Regions from separate parts of the Homo sapiens genome. Here region 2 is linked to region 1. Evidence: promoter capture Hi-C in human tissues and cell types (Jung and others, 2019). All regions are on one chromosome and are shown on one strand. The core of a region is centred on a gene start or on the middle of the fragment in contact, and the rest is flanking DNA. Distances in the headings are between cores, read along the strand shown. Region 1 holds the start of FXYD4 (FXYD domain containing ion transport regulator 4). Region 2 has its middle 70 kb from the start of LINC00839.

Region 1 (2,569 bases), core at 39-2,538:
CTCCCAGCCCTCTGCATATTGTTAGCCTAGTGTGGTCAAGTTTTCAATACTGAAGCCATTGTCATCATCTGCTGTACCCAGCTCTGGCCTCCTGATGAGATCACAGATCCAGGGCCAGCTGTCTGGGCTGGGTCCCTTCTTAGCAACTTACCAACTGTGTGACTCTGCAGGTTCCTCACTGCTCCTTCACCAGTGTCCTGTAAAAGGAGGATCATCAGAATAGTAGCAACCTCATAAGGTTATAGCGATGGAATTACGTGAACTACTATTTGTCAAGCCTAAGAACTATGCCTAGCACACAGTAAGCACTAAAAACCTGTTACAATAAATACATCCATAGGCCGGGCGCAGTGGCTCACACCTATAATCCCAGCACTTTGGGAGGCTGAGGCGGGTGGATCACCTGAGGTCAGGAGTTCAAGATCAGCCTGGCCAACATGGCAAAACCCCATCTATACTAAAAATACAAAAATTAGCTGAGTGTGGTGACAGGCGCCTGTATTCCCAGCTACTTGGGAAGCTGAGGCAGGAGAATCACTTAAACCTGGAAGGTGGAGGTTGCAGTGAGCCGAGATCCTGGCACTGCACTCCAGCCTGGGCAACAGAGGGAGACTCCATCTCAAAATAAATAAATAAATACATCCATAAATAAACACATGGTCCTTCTGCAGTGGGAGGGAGGCACTGGAGGGAGAGACTGTTAGGCACTGCTTCTGAACATCGGTTCTTGGGCTAGGAGCAGTCTCCAAAGCTGGCTTCCCCCAGCCTTCACTGGTCTCTCTACCTTCACCAACCTGGAGTTCCTGGAATACGAGGGTCTCAACTCTAGGTCACATTTTTTATTTTATTATTATTATTATTACTATTTTTTTTTTTTTTGAGACAGGGTCTTGCTCTGTTACCCAGGATGGAGAGCAGTGGCGTGATCTCGGCTCACTGCAGCCTTGAACTCTCTTGGCTCAGGTGATCTCCTCACCTGAGTATCTCAAGCAGTTGGGACCAGAGGTATACCCCACCAGCTCATATATTCTTTAGCCAAGGGCTGGCTTCTGTTTCCTCCAACCCCCAACCCACCATCCATATGATAGTGGGTGCAAAGCAGGAGGCCTTCAAGCGGCTGCTGCAGCCATATCTGTCCTCAGACCCCTCAACAGGCTCCTCATTACTCAGAATTCTTGGGCACCCACCCCCTTCACCCAGCAGCCCCAAAGTGGACGCCTGCTCACCTGCGAGGTCACCTTGGCGAGGGCTCACCTGAGCTGGCAGCGCAGAGAACGGATCTGAGGAGGCTGCTGGGCACGTGGGTCGGCTCTTTAAACCCTGCAGCCACGCCCAGGGCTCCATGACGCAGGCTGGAGGGAACTGGTCAGGCTCCCTGCCACACCCAGGGCTGTTGGGGAGGGGCGGGCTGGGCCGAAGACCCTCTTTTGGCTTCTTTTTTTTTTTTTTTTTTTTTTTTTTTTCTTTTTTTGAGATGGAGTCTCACTCTGTCACCCGGGCTGGAGTGCAGTGATGCAATCTCAGCTCACTGCAACCTCTGCCTCCTGGGTTCAAGCAATTCCCCTGCCTCAGGCTCCCGAGTAGCTGGGACTACAGGTGCACGCCACCACACCTGGCTAATTTTTTTTGTATTTTAGTAGAGATGGGGTTTCAATGTGTTGCCCAGGCTGGTCTCCAACTCCTGAGCTCAGGCAATCCGCCCACCTCGGCCTCCCAAAGTGCTAGGATTACAAGCGTGAGCCACCGCGCCCAGCCTTTCTTTTGGCTTCTTTAGCTCACCCAGATCCTAAAAGAGGGACCTGGAGGGTGCTGGGCAGGGTGTTCCTGGGCTCTTGTGCCAGCTTTGGGGGTTCTGGGACCTCTGTGTGGGGGTGTCCTGGGGACCACGGAGGATACCAGGAGCCAGGCACTGACCTTGAGGCTCCCTGTGCTCAGCAGTGCCATGCCACTGCTGTCACTTGGGCTGGGTGTCTACTGAAGGGAGGCTGGTGGCCGATGGGCACCCCCGGGGGTGGCTCACCCTCTGACAGGGCCCTGACACCCACTTAGCCTCCCCCACAGGTGAGGGATGGGGCCAGGAGGAGGATAGACGCCCCCGGCTGAGGAGTGGGCTGCCTCCCTCTGCAGACCTCAGGCCTGCCTTGTTGCTGGGGGCCAAAGTCACCCCACACAGGCGTGTGGAGGACCCCAGGCCTCCCTAGTCTGCTGTTACCCCTCCTTAATTCTTTTCCAAATGAGGGACACTTGTCCCTGTCCAGAAGGTAAGGGGGGATGGCTGACAAGGGATGGGGGTCTCTGGGCTGGGAGGGCTGGGGAGGGCAATGATGGTTTAGTTGGTTTGTTTGTTTATTTATATATTTATTTTTGAGCTGGAATTTCGCTCTGTCGCCCAAGCTGGAGTGCAGTGGCTCGATCTTGGCACACCACAACCTCCACCTCCCAGGTTCAAGCAATTCTGTCTCAGCCTCCCGAGTAGCTGGGATTACCGGCACACACCACTGTGCCCAGCTAATTTTTGTATTTTTAGTAGAGATGGGATTTCGCTATGTTGAGCAGGCTGGTCTCGAGC
Region 2 (2,569 bases), core at 48-2,547, 830 kb after region 1:
CTATGTCTTCTTTGTAGACTTAGTTTTTTTTTTTTTTTAATCAATATGTAGTGTTTTTCTCTTGTAACAATTTTTGATTTAAAGTCTCTTTTGTCTCAGTATAGCCACCCTGGCATTCTTTAGGTTACTATCCTCTTCTGTCATTTCAATTTCAACCTATTGTGTTGTGTGTTTGTATCTAAAGAGAGTGTCTTGTAGACAATATATACCTGGATCATATATTTTTATTTATTTTGCCAATTTATTTTTATTTTTATTATTTATTTTATTTTATTTTTTTTTTGAGACAGAGTCTTACTGCATCACCCAGGCTGGAGTGCAGTGGTGCGATCTTGACTCTCTGCAACCTCTGCCTCCAGCGTTCAAGCAGTTCTTCTGCCTCAGCCTCCCGAGTAGCTGGGATTACAGGTGTACACCACTACACCTGGCTAATTTTTGTATTTTTTTTTTTTTTTTAGTAGAGATGGGGTTTCACTGTATTGGTCAGGCTGGTCTCAAACTCCTGACCTCGTGATCCGCCCACCTCAGCCTCCCAAAGTGCTGGGATTACAGGTGTAAGCCACCATGCCCAGCCTATTTTGCCAATTTCTGTCTTTTAGTTGGGAGTTTAGTTTATTTACATTTAGAGTAAATTATAAACTGATAAAGGACTTATACCATTTTGCTATTTGTTTTCCATACGTATTACATCTTTTTTGTTTTCAGTTTTTCTGTGTATGCCTTCTTTTGTGTTTGTTTTTTTCTAATGTGCCATTTTAATTCCTTTTGTATTTGTTTGTAGTCATTATTTACCTAGTGTTAATACTTGGAATTGCAATTAGCATCTTGAATTTATAACAATCTAGCTTGCATTAATACTAACTAAGCCTTAATATTATATAAAAACTCTCCTCCTATACGGCTTTGTCCCTGTCCTTTGTCTTCTTATTGTCTCATTTTATGCCTTCATAAATAGCGTGCACATTACCATAGATTTATAATTATTGTTTTATGTATTTGTCTTTTAAATCATATAGAAAAAAGAGAGAACATAAAAGCCAAGAATACAATAAGACTGGCTTTTGCATTTACTTACAGTAGTTACTTTTACCATTTGAATTTTTTGTGTGTTTCGATTGGAGTTACTGTCTAATGTCCTTTTGTTTCAACCTTAAGGACTTCCTTTTGCATTTCTTGTAGGACAGATCTAGTACTAATAAATTCTCTCAGATTCTGTTGATCTAGGAATGTTTTAATTTCTCTTTCATTTTTGAAAGGCAGTTTTGCCAAATGTAGAATTTTTGATATATATTTTTTTTCTTTTGGCACTTGAAAGGTGCCATTATCCTACTGCCTCTGGCCTTCATGGTTCCTAATAAAAGTCTGGCTGTTAATCTTATTTCAGATCCTTTGTACATGGTTAGTCCCTTATCTCTTGCTACTTTTGAGATTCTTTGTCTTGTGACAATTTATTATTTCTCTCAGTTTGAAGTTCTTTGAGCTTATCCTAATTATAGTTTCTTGAGAGTCTTGGGCATAGAGATTCATGTCTTTCATCAGTTTAGAAGGTCTTCAGACATTATTTCTTCAGATATTTTTGGTTCCCTTTTCTCCTCTTCATTAGCAACTCTTGTTATTAACTTGTTGGTATGCTTGATGTTGTCTCATAGATCTCTTAGGCACTGTCCATTTTTCACCATTCTTTTTCTCTGCTCCACAGAATGAGTAATCTCCATCAGTGTCTTCAATTTTGCTGATTCTTTGTTCTCTTTGAGCTCCAATCTTTTATTAAATCCTTTGACTGATTTTAAAAAAATTTAGTTTTTGTACTTGTCAGCTCCAGACATTCCTAATTACATTTTTGTAATTTTGTTCTGTATATTAATATTTTATATTTGGCAGGGCATCGCTCACCTGCTTTCTGTTAGTTGTCTGGTTTCATTTAGCTTTTTGTGCACATTTAGAACAGTTGATTTAAATTCTTTATCTAGTAAGACCAATAACAAAGGTGTCTTTGAGGACAGGTTTTATTCATTTCTTTTTTCTGTGTGTCTGTGGGTCATATTATCTTCTTTGCATTCCTCATAATTTTTTATTGAAAACTGAACATTTTGAATATTAAAATGTGTTAATTCTAGAAATCAGATTCTTTTCCCCAGAATTTGTTGTTGCTGTTTATTTTGCATTGTTTGTTTATTTTGTGACTTTTCAAAACTATTTTTGTAAAGTTCTTTGTTGTACATGGTCACAGAAACCTCTGTTCCCTTAGTTTAGTGGTCAGTTTGTGATCTGACAGAGATTTCTTTAAATGCCCAAAGCCAAAACAAAACAAAAAACTATTCTGGTCTTTGCATATTTGCCCTGTTTTAGGGCGCTCTTGTAATGGTTTGCCAGGCCATTTACATCTCTGTGTAAAGCTTTACTTCCTGCTTACACTGAGCCTGAAGGTCAACCAGACTGAAAGCTTAGGTTCCTCTCAGGTTTTTTGTGAGCGTGCATATTGCCCTGGCCTTGCACATGACCTCAATTCCCTGGTTTATGCAGGAGCTTTTCAAACCCCTTATCCCCACCCCGGCCCCCATGTATTTCC

The links. The method cuts DNA at HindIII sites, captures the fragments that hold promoters and counts their contacts. A contact is called where the count stands out against the background at its distance.
Region 2: a fragment that was not itself captured here is called in contact with the fragment with the promoter of FXYD4 in region 1 in 1 of the 25 tissues and cell types used here (dorsolateral prefrontal cortex).

Annotation. Positions count from the first base shown.
Region 1 is chr10:43,370,355-43,372,923 of GRCh38, reverse strand. FXYD4 (FXYD domain containing ion transport regulator 4) reads right to left here and starts at 1,288. Exons shown (of 9, transcript NM_173160.3): 1 at 1,227-1,288; 2 at 152-197. The HindIII fragment of the contact is 15,718 bases long and covers 1-2,569 here.
Region 2 is chr10:42,544,120-42,546,688 of GRCh38, reverse strand. It overlaps the pseudogene ZNF37BP. Among named protein-coding and RNA genes, the nearest start is that of LINC00839, 70 kb to the right of the region's middle. The HindIII fragment of the contact is 4,235 bases long and covers 1-2,569 here.